Linked DNA regions of Homo sapiens: regions 2, 3 and 4 are each linked to region 1. Evidence: promoter capture Hi-C in 16 types of primary human blood cells and fetal thymus (Javierre and others, 2016). All regions are on one chromosome and are shown on one strand. The core of a region is centred on a gene start or on the middle of the fragment in contact, and the rest is flanking DNA. Distances in the headings are between cores, read along the strand shown.

Region 1 (3,546 bases), core at 881-3,380:
TGGGAGAGGAAAGCGGGGCAGGAAGATGAGGATTCTCATCTATTGATAATAAAGCTCCAGGTTCATCCCATCGTGGATTTCATCTGAAGGAAAGGTGTTAAGGAATCCTGACTCTGACTTCCGTCCCCACCCCTCTCATCCATTCACAGCCGGGTCAGGTGGCCTGAGGTCTCAGCCCAGGGCTAAGGAAGCCCATTTTGGACCAGGCCATTTTTATTTGGAGAGAACCAAAACTTTACAAAAGAATTTCTGGCTGGGTGCAGTGGCTCACACCTGTAATCCCAGCACTTTGAGAGGACGAAGCAGGTGGCTCACTTGACGTCAGGAGTTTGAGACCAGCCTGGCCAACACGATGAAACCCTGTCTCTACTAAAAATACAAAAAGTTAGCTGGGTGTGGTGGTGGGCACCTGTAATCCCAGCTACTTGGAAGGCTGAGACAGGAAAATCGCTTAAACCTGGGAGGTAGAGGCTGCAGTGAGCCAAGATTGTACCACTGCACTCCAGCCTGGGCAACAAGAGCAAAACTCCATCTCAAAAAAAAAAAAAAAAGTTTCTGTTCCTTCTAGGCCAGGCACAGTGGCTCACGGCTATAATCCCAGCACTTTGGGAGGCCGAGGCGGGAGGATCACTTGAGGCCAGGAGTTTGAGACTAGCCTGGCATACATGGTGGAACCTCATCTCTACTAAAAATACAAAAACTAGCAGGGAGTGGTGGCACACACCTGTAATCCCAGCTACTTGGGAAGCTGAGGCAGAATTGCTTGAACCCGGGAGGTGGAGGTTGCAGTGGGTCAAGATCGTGCCACTGCACTCCAGCCTGGGCGACAGAGCCAGACTGTCTCAAAAAAATAAATAAATAAAATAAAAATTGTAAAAAGTTTCTGCTCCTTTTGCACAATAGATATGCCTGAGTCTCACCCCACCCTGACCTACTGTCCAGCACTCAGGTGGAGGTCAGTAATAAATATTTTGAACTTGAAGTCAAACTATTTCACCAACCACTCTCCTCCCCAACCAAATAATTACCTAGCTCCCATTTTCTAAGTGCTCACCATGTGCCACGTATTAAGTTAAACACTTAATATGCATAAGCTCATGCAGACTTTAGTTTTGAACAGATAACCGAGGCTGGGTATGTAGATGCTTCCTCAAAAAGTCACACAAAGGATACAGTCCCCCAGAGACACGTGGTCCTTAAAAATCGTGTACCTAAGAAAAAGAGACATTTCAGAGATAAGGCTAAGGAGGCTCTTCAGTCTGTAGGCCAAATGAGGTAGCCAAGCCTAAGCAAAGGGCTGCCTGCAGCGCTCCCCCAACCAAAACCTTCCGGCCTAGTCCAGTCCACCCAGTGGCTCTACCGCTGCACTCACCACTTCTTCAGGACAATCTTGTTCCAACGGGTACCAGTTTGGGCTGCAATCAGCTTCTTAAGGTCCCCGATGGTATCATCCGTGCTGGGCGCAGAGCAGTTAAGGCAAATGGAAGCGGTAGAACGAGGAAGAGGACATTCTAGGGCAGAATACCATCTGCCAGGACCCCATCCGCCCCCTCTCCCGGGTTTAACTAAAACCATCCGACAACACAGATTGAGTTGCCTGCCTCACGCCAAGCACCCCTGCGGGTACCACTGCCTCTCGGCTGCCAGTGGATACTTGCATTTAACGCGGACCTTCTTCCCCAGACGGTCGTTGCAAACAACCTCGATCATCCTAGCTGGAGCTACACAAAGCGGGGGGTGGGTGGGAGGCAGCAAAGTCAGAGCTTCAGGCGTCTCCCAGGCCCAGAAGCCCCAGCCTACAAGTCTCCCAGTCCCAGGCCCTAAAATTCCAGGTTACTGAGCCTTCCGTTCTGCCCCCAACCCCCCGGACTCGAATACTCCCAGGCCCCAAGTCCCCTGTCCCAGGGCCGCGAACCCCGGGGAGCCGCGCCTCCGCCCCTTCTCGCCGCCTGAAAGCCCTGCCACAAAACTCCCTGGCCTCACCTCCCACCGACCCCAGACCCTGGGTGGCTGGGTCGCGACAGCTTTCTCCGACTCCGAGCCTCTCCGCTTGACCCCCTCACCTCGAATCGCCTCGAACCTGCCGACGCCACCAGCTCCTCACCCGAGCGCTGAACCCCGGTCGCAGTTAACGCTAGGAACCGGAAGCGGAAGTTAAAGTTCGAGGCCGGAAGCCCTGCCCCTAGCCAGGGGGTGTGGTCAACACTGGGACAAGTTCTTCCGGGTCTGCAGTCTGTGGTGTGTTTGCTGTTCCCAGGTACGGTTTCGGTGTCCCAAGGCTTGACAGGTGTCGCGCCTGTGGTAGGCGCGCCGGGTAGAGAGGGGGGCCTCGGCGGGTTTGTGGCCAGGGAAGGGGCGTGGAGCGAGAGTCAGAGGTCAGGCGCCGGCGCCCAGCTCGTTTGAAGTCATTGTTTGTTGCAGGGAGACTCGGTCACATGGTGGGGACGCCAGAGGGTCCCGGGAGTAGGGGTAAGCTCCTGATCCTGAGCCCGAAGCCTCTTGCAGCGGCAACTAGGAGCAAGGGCGGAGGGTGGGGGTGGGGGACGAGTTCTGCAGTCATCCCTTCTGACCCCCTGGGTTCATTCAGGGCTGGGCTTGGTGAGCATTTGGCTCACCTCTTCCCTCTGGCCATCGCGTTCCCCCGGGATACGGACTCCAGTCAGTAGGCGAAGCTTGATCCTAGAGTAGACTCTACGCTGCCCAACAGCTGCTGTTACCGCATGGTGCCGGACAGTTCCAGGCTCTTGGTGTCCTGAAGAAAGATTTGGACCAGACACACAGAGATGGCAAAGCTGCAAGTTTATTAAGCACAGTATTCCACTCTCGGAGTGGGGAGAGCGGACTGACCTCTGCGAGATAAGATCAGCCCCAGCTTGGTATAGTTTGGGTCTTTTTTTTTTTTTTTTTCTGAGACGTAGTCTCGCTCTGTTGCACAGGCTGGAGTGCAATGGCGCGGTGCCGGCTCACCGCAACCTCCGCCTTCCGGGTTCAAGCGATTCTCCTGCCTCAGCCTCCCGAGTAAGTAGCTGGGATTACAGGCGCCCGCCACCACGCCCGGCTAATTTTTGTACTTTTAGTAGAGATGGGGTTTCACCTTATTGGCCAGGCTTTTTTTCTCTTCCCAAGGCTGCCTAATATCTAGCCAGTGTCTACCTTTTTGAATGATAGGTGTGTTGCTTACTTTGGCCCCTGTGTGCTTGAGAGCCGCCTCCATTCATGATATGCCGTCCATATGCATGAGCGCTAATGAGCTGGTTATCCTTATCATGTTAAGGATACTTTTTGTCTTTAATGCGCGTGCTTATGCCTAAAGAGCTGCTCCTTACTGGTTTGGTCCTGATTTCCCCGGCCGTGGGATTTTTACTGTTTTTTTTTTAATTTTATTTATTTATTTATTTATTTATTTATGGAGTCTCGCTCTGTCGCCCAGGCTGGAGTGCAGTGGCGTGATCTGGGCTCACGGCAAGCTCCGCCTCCCGGGTTCACGCCGTTGTCCTGCCTCAGCCGCCTCCCGAGTAACAGGGACTACAGGCGCCCCCCACCACC
Region 2 (3,617 bases), core at 289-2,788, 510 kb after region 1:
AGCTAAATCCCTATTTACAGGGTCAAATCTCCTCTGAACCATCCAACAAGTAGTCAGAGCCTGTGAGGTGTGCCAAAGGAATAATCCCTTGGTTCATTGTAAGGCCCCTCTTGGGGAACAAAGAATAGGGCACTATCCTGGAGAGGACTGGCAATTAGACTTCACCCATATGCCTAAGTCAAGTGGATTTCAATACTTGTTGGTCTGTGTTGATGCTTTTACAAATTGGATAGAAGCCTTCCCCTGCAAGACAGAGAAGGTTCAGGAAGTGGTTAAAGACCTAATTCATTAAATAATTCCTAGATTTGGGCTTCCCCAAAGCTTACAAAGCGACAACAGTCTGGCTTTTAAAGCCACGGTAACTCAGGGAATTTCCAGGGCACTAGGGATAAAATATCACCTTCACTGCACCTGGAGGCCACAATCCTCAGGGAAGGTCTAGAGGGCAAATGAAACACTCAAGAGGCACCTAAGGAAACTAACACAAGAAACTCATTTCCCATGGCCTACTCTGTTGCCCATGGCCTTGTTGAGAATCCGAAATTCTCCTCACAAAATGGGGCTCAGTCCATATGAAATGCTGTATGGATGACCTTTTCTCACTAATGACCTTCTACTTTATCAGGAAATGGCCAGTTTGGTCAAAGATATAACTTCTTTGGCAAAATATCAATAAAATCTTAAAAACCTACCCGAAGGATGTCACGAAGACAAGGGAACAGAGTTGTTCCAACCAGGAGATCTAGTGTTGGTCAAGTCCCTCCCCTCTACCTCCCCATCTATGGATTCCTTGTGGGAAGGAACATACTCCGTAATCCTCTCTACCCCCACTACAGTTAAGGTGGCAGAAGTGGAATCTTGGATTCACCACACCCGAGTTAAACTTTGGACACCCGTTATGAAGGAAAATACCCTTTCCAACTTGTAAATATGCAATCATTAGCCAACTTCCCCATCTCCGATAGGACCAAAAATACCCTAACAGGACGTACAATCCAGCTTTTACGCTCTTACATTTCCAACTTCATCTATTACATGAGCAATGAAAAACCCATACATGGCCCTGTAACCGCGAATACCATCTTAACTTTCCAAGCCCCTTTATGCATCCAATGGAACCTGTTATCAGGCCTGCCCCTGGGACACCTGCTATCCCATCAGTGTAATTATACCCTACAACTTCAAGCCCCAACTGATCATAGTAACTTCCGAGTCACCCAAACAGCTCCATTCAGATGGCTTGTCTGCTTCTCAGGGCCCCCTAAAATCATCACCTCCTCCCTGCTTAAACAGTTTGTAATGGCAAACATCCTCCCTGCATGACCATTCACCCCTGGAACCCCTGCAGCAGCGCCCCCACCACTAATGAATGCCTTCTCATCCCCTCTTTCAATCACTCTCTTGAATGGTTCCTAGTAGATACAAAATGGTTTTTTCTCTAATGGGAAAATAGAACACAGGGAGCCACTCAGTTTGCTCCCAATACCCCTTTCCAGCTGCTCACTGGAGCTACCTTGACAAGTACTCCAGGAGTATGGGAAAATGAAAAGAACAAACTCACACGCCTTTTTAACATACACAACCATTTCTGTCTACCCAGCCAAGGCATATTCTTCCCATGTGGAACTTCAACCTATATCTGCCTCCCCACCAACTGGAGACGCACCTGCACCTTAGTCTTCCTAAGTCCCAACATTGACATTGCCCCAGGAAATCAGACCCTATCAGTGCCCCTCAAAGCTCAAGTTTGTCAGTGCAGGGCCATACAACTAATACTCCAACTTATAGGGTTAGGAATGGCCACTGCTACAGGAACTGGAATAGCCAGTTTATCTACTTCATTATCCTATTACCACACACTCTCAAAAGATTTTTCAAACAGTTTGCAAGAAATAAAATCTATCGTTACTCTACAATCCCAAATAGACTCTTTAGTGGCAGTGACTGTCCAAAACCGCTGAGGCCTAGACCTCCTCACTGCTGAGAAAGGAGGACTGTACATTCTTAAGGGAAGAGTGTTGCTTTTACACTAACCAGTAAGGGATAGTATGAGATGCCGCTTATCGTTTACAGGAAAAGGCTTCTGAAATCAGACAACGCCTTTCAAACTCTTATACCAACCTCTGGAGTTGGGCAACATGGCTTCTCCCCTTTCTCAGTCTCAGGACAGCCATCTTGCTATTACTTGCCTTTGGGTCCTGTATTTTTAACAACCTTGTCAAATTTGTTTCCTCCAGGATCGAGGCCATCAAGCTACAGAGGGTCTTACAAATGGAACCCCAAATGAGCTCAACTCAGAACTTCTACTGAGGACCCCTGGACTGACCCACTGGCCCTTTCACTGGCCTAGAGAGTTCCCCTCTGGAGGACACTACAACTGCAGGGCCCCTTCTTCACCCCTATCCGGCAGGAAGTAGCCCAGAGCGGTCATCACCCAGTTCCCAACAGCTGTTGGGTGACCTGTTTAGAGGGATAATTGAGAGGTGAGGCCAGCTGGACTTCCTGAGTTGAGTGGGGACTTGGGGAACTTTCCTGTCTTACAAGCGGATTGTAAAATGCACCAATCAGCACTCTGTAAAACGCACCAATCAGCAGGATTCTAAAAGTAGCCAATCACAGGGAGGATTGAAAAAAGGGCACTCTGATAGGACAGAAACGGAACATGGGAGGGGTCGATAAGGGAATAAAAGCTGGCCACCCCCCCCCAGCCAGCAAGGCAACCCGCTAGGGTCACCTTCCACGCTGTGGAAGCTTTGTCCTTTCGCTCTTCACAATAAACGTTGCTCACTCTTTGGGTCCATGCCATCTTTAAGAGCTGTAACACTCACTGCAAAGGTCCGCAGCTTCATTCTTGAAGTCAGCAAGACCACAAACCCACCAGCAGGAACCAACTCTGGACACATTATCTCCTTTACAGCTTGGGTCCAGAGAGCTGCCTTAGACTCTCCAGTGAATCTATTCAAACAGCTGCCTCTGTTATCTTGACTCATCTCAGATTTCGTCCACCTGAGACACGTGCTGGTACTAGGAATGTAAGACTGTCTGTATTATTTTGGCTTGCTCCAGGTTAGGGAGAAGCCCGTGTGAAGCTTCAACTGACCATGTGTTTCATTTCTAGCTTTGATGTCTGGGCACTGATTTCCCTAGATTTAACTATTTGCTCAATGTTAAGGCAGTTTTGTGGAAATTTGTCTGTGTAACAGAAGTGCTGTGCAGGTCTGTCTGTGTGACTGTCATGCAGGCCTGTCTGTGTGATTGTCAGGGAGAATTGACCTGCCACAAATTGGGAGGAAAAGCAGTCTGGATACCATGAACCAATTCTTGGTGTTGCTAGGACCTGGTCTGTCAGTAAAGGAAAACCAAGGCAAAACATGCTTTGACCACTGTCCTAGTTATAGATTTATTACTTATGCTACAAATTTGTCCTTTTTTTCTGCTTTGTGATAATGGAGATGGGCCTTATAAATATTTCTCTTTTACCCATTACCAGTGTAGGGTGCTGGAAGACAAGGAAGGAGGAAGAAGCTTCCTTTCCAAGTTTCAGTGTTGAGGTAGAATAGGGTCTAGAGGAAGGGAACCTAAGGCCAATCACGCTGACTTTCTAGAACTAGATCAAA
Region 3 (3,251 bases), core at 724-3,223, 580 kb before region 1:
ACACAGGCAGGAGAGACATAGCAGGGTTTGCACCGATGGGGGTGGGATGGGGACCGGGGACAGAGGGACAGTGCAAAGCAACTTAGGGGTCTCTCTCCTCAGTCCCCAGGGCTGGAGGTGCTGTGCTGGCAGATTAGGAAATGCTTGGGGTTGATGGGGAAGCTTCCGGCGCTCTATCCCCAGTTCTGGAAGCTGAGGCTCCGGGAACCCTGTTTTGCTGAAGCTGGGCAGCTCCAGTCTCCAGAGCCAGGAAGAGACCCCCGCGCCTATCCGGGAATCCCCGACATCTGGGATTCTCTCCAAACACCCCCAGGCTGATGACGGGGCCGAATCCCTAAAGGGCATACGGTGGGGGTGGGGGTACGACTTTCCTGGGGAGCCGGGGAACCCCCTACCTTCCTGGCCCCCTCCCACTGTGGCACCGTGTCCCCCTCCCCACCGCAGCTCGCAGCCCCAAGCTTACCTTGCGGGGGGCCTGGGGAGGGGATGCCCCGCCCTCCCTGGCCTGGGGGGCGGGAGGGGACGGGGGTGTCCAGACCCTTTGTTTGCTGGTGTGTGTGTGTATGTGTGTGTGCGATTGTGAGAGCCGCCGGGGTGTGGGTCCGTGCGCGCGCGTGCCCGGGCCGTGACGGCCACTGATGTGCTGGACTGCCAGGGTGGAGGGGAAGAGGGAGGGGTAGGAGATGGGGACTCCCCCGCCCCTGCCCGCCCACTCGCGGGTTTGAATGAAGCGCGAGGGGGAAGGGCGGCAGCGGGAGGACGTTTTTGTCCGATGGCCCTTCCCGCTCCATGCACCGGGGAATCCTCCCCCTTCTGGAGAACTTCGCTCGCTCTCTCCAGGCACTGCCTCCAACGTCGGCTCCAGGGGAGACTAGGAAGAGGCGCCCCTCACCGGAGTGGCTGGAGCTCCTCCTATCCAGCCTGACCCCCGAGGGAGCACCCTTTAATCTGAGATAATCCTGGCCCAAGGCTGCAACACGGCCTATTATCCTGGTATCAAAGCGTGGATTGGGATGCATGGAAGTGTGAGGTGGTCGAGGCCCTGCATGCTTAGAGTAATGGAGTCCTTAGAGCCCCGGCGGAGGAAGCGTACCCCAAGACGAACGGGGAGGGGCTATGCGTGGCCCCAGACTGTGACGACAAGGAAAGCCCCCTTCCACCCCTCCACGATTCCCCCCACCAAGCGCGGGGCCAGGAATACGCGCCGTGGGCTAGACTCTAGCGACACCCAGCGGCCAGCGGGGTGGGGAGCCGAGACCCGTTTTGAGGGGGTCCGGGTGATTCCAAAGTGTGTGTGTGTGTGTGTGTGCGTGTGTGTGTGTGTGTGTGTGTGTGTGCGCGCGCGCGCTCGCGCGAGTCCTCGCTGCGAATGGCAGGAGGTGGAAGACAAGGAGAAGGCTGTTGCCGAGGCGGGGAAACCCCAGCTCCCAAGGCAGGGCCACAGTCTCCCCTCCACGTTTAACCCTGCAAGGGGAGGGCCATACCACCCCCGATTTAGACACCCCCAGGGCAGGTCCAGTCCTCCTCGGGCTGAGAAAGTCCGAGGAGTCATCAGGCGCCCCTCTCCAGCGCAGGCTTAGGTCCCCGTTTACGAAGGGCAGGGGGAGGGCCTTCCCGCCGTGTCCCTACCCCTTGCAGACGTCACTGCGGCGTGGCTGAGGGGACAGTCCTCTCAGTCTCATCAACCGTCCCCTCCCTGCCACCCCAAACGCCCACCGTGGAGCGGCGGGAGATGAGGGGGGCTCGGAGTTGAAGCGCGCACTCATATGCCCCCAGGAGACCTAGCGGAGCCCCAGCGCCCGATGACGCGGAGTCTCTGCGGGAACTCCAGGGGGCCGGAACACTTACGCAGGGCCCTTTAAGGCTGGCTGGGTAGCTAGTGCCGCTGCCGCGGTTACTAGGGATGTGACGTCACACAGGGCGGGGTTTCCCGCGCTCGGCGGAAGCGGAAGGGGCGGGGCTCCGCGCTCCTAGTCTCCACTGCTGCCGCCGTCGCCGCCACCCGAGCCGGAGCGGGCTGGGCCGCCAAGGCAAGATGGTGGACTACAGCGTGTGGGACCACATTGAGGTGTCTGATGATGAAGACGAGACGCACCCCAACATCGACACGGCCAGTCTCTTCCGCTGGCGGCATCAGGTAAGGCGCGCGCGCCCATCCCTTTCCCCACTCCCGGACCCCGCTTCGGAGTTGTGATCCCCGATACTGCCCAGGGACCCCGCTGTTCACACCTAGGATTCTCACCCCCCCAGTCTGGATTTTCAGGAGCTTCGATTCAACTCCGGGACCCCAGTACCATTGGGACCCTGAGTCCCTGCCCTGGATCTCCGCTCCCCCACTCCCTGCTCCGATTTTTGCGTGGGATTCCCTATTCACCCCCTAGAACTTCTTCATAGTCTGGAGTCCCCTAGACGAGTCTTGGGGGTTCTCCCTAATTCTGTTCGGCAGTTAACATTTATACCCAGAACTCTGCCTCAAAGTTTGGACCCCAAATTCTTCTAGATGATCCCTCATCCTATTCGGGTATTCACTTCCTATCTGGGATCTCCCATCGCCCCCCCACCTCCGTAGTCTGGACCCCCAATACTTTGGTCTGTCCCGGGATCTACTTTCCGGGATCTTGATCCGGGGTTCCCATTCAGATCCGGAGTCGCCACTCCTTTTCTAAACGGAACAAGGAACTCTGTGCTACTCTGATATTCCTGTCCCTGCCCACACCCAGGACCCCCTTCCTAGAGTGTAGAACCGTCCCCCTTCAGGATCCTTAGTCTCACCGAGTACTTGGGTTTTGGAATCTGGTTCCCCTCTGGATCTAACTACCAGCTCCAACCCGATAGAGCCTCACATTCCAGCCTCTCCTTTGGCCTCCGGTAGACCCATTTCCCATTATACCAGGAAATCCTGCCCACGTGGCTTCCGGCCTAGCCAGAGCCCCTGCTCCTACTTGGTATTGCAGACCCTGTCACCACCCACTTCCCAGACTGGCTTCCTGTATGAGCCTCAGCCAGCATTGGAAACTCTCCCCTAACTCAAGCCCAGAACCCCAAACCCACCCCACCTTTTGTCCCCAGCCTGTTAGCTACTCTGTGACCCAAATTGTCCCTGCTCTTATCCAGGGACTCTCCTGGTCTGATTCTAAATTCACCACCCCTTCTTCTATCTGACCACAACAGAGGTCCCGAATCCAGACCCCAGAATCCCAAGCCTGGGTGATCCATGTCCCACCACCCTCTCAGTGCTCACGAGCCAATGG
Region 4 (3,266 bases), core at 188-2,687, 680 kb after region 1:
AGCGAGACTCAGTCTCAAACAAACAAACAAACAAACAAACAAACAAAAACAACTACCTTGACACACTAAACCTAGGGAAAGCAAAAGTGAAGAAATAAAGATTAAAGCAGAGACAAATGAAATAGAGAATAGGAGAATTAATGAAAACAAAAGTTGGTTCTTTCAAAAAGATCAACAAAGGTGACAAAACTACAGCTAGAATTACTAACAAAAAAAGATGCAAGTAACTAAAATCATCAGTGGAAGTGGGACATTACTACCGACCTTACGGAAATTCAAAGGGCTGTAAGAGAATGCCATGAACAATTATGCACCAACACATTAGATCATCTACACTAGCAGTCCCCACCCAATTTGGCATCAGAGACTGGTGTCATGGAAGACAATTTTTCCATGGATGGTGAGGTGAGGGGGGATGGTTTTGGGATGACTTGAGTGCATTACATTTATTGTGCACTTTATTTCTATTATTATTACATTGTAATATATGGTAAAATAATTATACAACTCACCATAATATAGAATTAGTGGAAGCCCTGAGAGTGTTTTCCTGAAACTAGATGGTCCCATCTGGAGGTGATGGGAGACACTGACAGATCATCAGGCATTAGATTTTCATAAGGAGTGTGCAATCTAGATCCCTTGCATGTGCAGTGCACAATAGGGTCTGCGCCCCTATGAGAATCTAATGCTGCTGATGATCTGACAGGAGGTGGAGTTCAGGGGTAATGTGAGTGATGGGGAGCCGCTGTAAATACAGATGAAGCTTCACTCACTTGCCCTCCGCTCACCTCCTGCGGCAGGGCCTTGTTCCTAAAAGGCCAGGGACCGGTACCTGTCTGTGGCCCAGGGCTTGGGGATCAATGCTCTAGATGTATCAAATTCCTTGAAACATACCCAAACAGGCTCTAGAAGAAAAAGAAAATTGAGAGACCTATAACAAGAGACTGAGGCAGTCATCAAAAGCCATTAAATAAAAAGTCCAGGACCAGCTGGGCACGGTGGCTCACGCCTGTAATCCCAGCATTTTGGGAGGCCGAGGCGGGTGGATCAGGAGGTCAGGAGATCGAGACCATCCTGGCTAACACGGTAAAACCCCATCTCTACTAAAAATACAAAAAATTAGCCAGGCGTGGTGATGAGTGCCTGTAGTCCCAGCTACTCGGGAGGCTGAGGCAGGAGAATGGTGTGAACCTGGGAGGCGGAGCTTGCAGTGAGCCGAGATTGCGCCACTGCACTCCAGCCTGGGCGACAGAGCAAGACTCCGTCTCAAAAAAAAAAAAAAAAAGTCCAGGACCAAGGGGCTTCACTGGTGAACCCTACCAAACATTTAGAATTAACATCAAGGACATTATCAAGAAAGTGAATGAGACACAGAATGGTGGAAAATATTTGCAAATCATGTATGTGATAGGGATTTAATATCATTATAAACTCAACAACAAAGACAACCCAGTAAAAAAGTGGGCAGGAGACTTGAACAGAACAGACATTTCTCCAAATTTACAGAAATGAACTGTAAACACATGAAAAGATGATTAACAACATCAGTCATTAAGGAAATAACATCAAAACCACAATACATTGGTGAGGTATGGTGGCCCACACCTCGGGAGGGGATTTAATTTGCTTTGTATGAACATGCCTCCTCTCTCTGGCTTCCACCGCGACTCTCATGACAGCACTGATGTAAGAACCGTGACGCTGCTACTTTAACATCTGACTCAGATCAATAATCAATATTACCACTTTTAAACATTACCAGGGTTATAACAATCTTTTTCAACATCAATTAGTATTTCTGCTATTGGAATTGTTTTAGATATTCAGAAACATTTCAAAACAATAATATAGGAAGTGTGTTTTAACGTATAAACTCTGCCTTGGGGATTCATTATTCAACACCAAATTTGATCTTGGGCCAACTCAAAGATGCATGACGCTTTCATTCTTTTTACAAAGCCCTTTTCTAGTCATTGTGCCTTTGGGTTCTGACATTAAGTCACTGCTGAGGAAGGGGAGAGAGGGTGACAGAGGCTCAGTTCCTGAGGCACAGTATCTCCATCCTCACCTACCATTCATTCATTCATGCTCAACTAACAAGCTTCTGCAGGTCCCATTCCACCTTTCCCCACCAACATTAATGCCAATTCTACAAATAACGACATGTGTAGTGTTTACAAGGTATGAGACATTCTCCTGAGTCTTTCCAGGGCCACTCCTATTTAATCCTCACAACCTCCCGGAATTATTCTCAAGTACCCAGAGAATAAGGCACCAAGGGTCCGAGACACTTGGTCAAGGTCATAGGTGGAAGTTGTGAGCCCAGCTGACGTGACTGCGGAGCCACATCTTGTTGCCTCTCAAAGTGACCTATGTCACCTGTACTGTCCCCTATGTGGGAACTCCTTGACACTACATCTTGACCCTTCCTTTGCCTGACCTCCTGACACATCATCTTGCTCACTATGAATCTATCTCCCTCTTCCTGGGAATGCCACTGCTCTTGCAGCCATAGCCCACTCATCCCAGTCTGTGCTCACATCTCTGGTTGCTCTTTTGAAGACTCTGGCTTGAGATCCCTCCTCTGCCCAGCCCCTAAAGGTCAGGGTTCCCCTGGGCCCCTCTCCCCCATCTCCCACAGGTCCACATTGTGAAACACCCCCACCATTTGGAGGTGCTGACACCCAGGTTCTGATTGCACTTCTGTGAAGGTCTCCCTGTCCCTGAGGCCTCAGTAGACTCCCCTTTAATGCAAGCCCACAGTTCTGCTCATTCCCCTCCCAAGAGTCAGTTCATCAAAACTCAGTTTTCTCATCTGGAAACTGAAGACTTTAACACTGGGTTATGTATGGAACTCTATAGGCTCAGTAAACAAACATTCACTCTAAAATGCCATTATCATTAAAATAAAATGACCACTGACGATTTCACAATTACTTAACAGAATTGTTCATTTATAGTGGGTGCCACTCTCCGCTCCCTGGCACCTGCCCCACCCAGAATGACTCAGAGTGAGTGGCAGCCAGGTGGCTACTTAGTATCCCTACTGCAACAGCCAACAGGATCCCACATTAAACACCTACAACTGTGCTGCCACCAGCCTCCCCACGTTGATGGCAGCTCCAGCCTCCCAGGGGCTCAAGTCAAAAGCCTTGCTCGTCATCACCTTCAACTCTCCTCTTTCTTTTCCATAAACCACACCTGCATCACCAGCAAATCCTGCCAGCCTTAACTTTAAAACTTAATACAAAAATCTGGTTGCT

The links. Contacts are between HindIII fragments. The CHiCAGO score rates a contact against its expected background, and 5 or more counts as called.
Region 2: a fragment that was not itself captured here is called in contact with the fragment with the promoter of UBL5 in region 1 in 1 of 17 cell types (neutrophils); the score reaches 5.4 in neutrophils.
Region 3: the fragment with the promoter of CDC37 here is called in contact with the fragment with the promoter of UBL5 in region 1 in 2 of 17 cell types (total CD4 T cells and non-activated CD4 T cells); the score reaches 10.5 in total CD4 T cells.
Region 4: a contact is called between a fragment that was not itself captured here and the fragment with the promoter of UBL5 in region 1, in 1 of 17 cell types (endothelial precursors). The highest score is 6.2, in endothelial precursors.

What each region holds. Positions count from the first base shown.
Region 1 is chr19:9,826,502-9,830,047 of GRCh38, reverse strand. It overlaps UBL5 (ubiquitin like 5), which reads right to left and starts at 2,130. Exons shown (of 5, transcript NM_001048241.3): 1 at 2,064-2,130; 2 at 1,655-1,721; 3 at 1,373-1,456; 4 at 1,174-1,211; 5 at 1-83. The coding sequence starts at 1,710. The coding sequence ends at 40. RefSeq lists a silencer at 2,014-2,320 and enhancers at 2,364-2,413, 1,824-2,548. The HindIII fragment of the contact is 5,434 bases long and covers 1-2,674 here.
Region 2 is chr19:9,313,365-9,316,981 of GRCh38, reverse strand. No RefSeq gene overlaps it. Among named protein-coding and RNA genes, the nearest start is that of ZNF699, 5.3 kb to the right of the region's middle. The HindIII fragment of the contact is 2,430 bases long and covers 324-2,753 here.
Region 3 is chr19:10,402,264-10,405,514 of GRCh38, reverse strand. CDC37 (cell division cycle 37, HSP90 cochaperone) reads left to right here and starts at 1,973. Exons shown (of 8, transcript NM_007065.4): 1 at 1,973-2,137. The coding sequence starts at 2,036. It overlaps MIR1181 (microRNA 1181), which reads left to right and starts at 1,977; the gene lies at 1,977-2,057. RefSeq lists silencers at 438-487, 2,198-2,257 and an enhancer at 1,448-1,797. The HindIII fragment of the contact is 3,760 bases long and covers 461-3,251 here.
Region 4 is chr19:9,149,930-9,153,195 of GRCh38, reverse strand. All of the region lies in intron 1 of ZNF317 (zinc finger protein 317), which reads right to left. Among named protein-coding and RNA genes, the nearest start is that of ZNF317, 11 kb to the right of the region's middle. The HindIII fragment of the contact is 1,338 bases long and covers 769-2,106 here.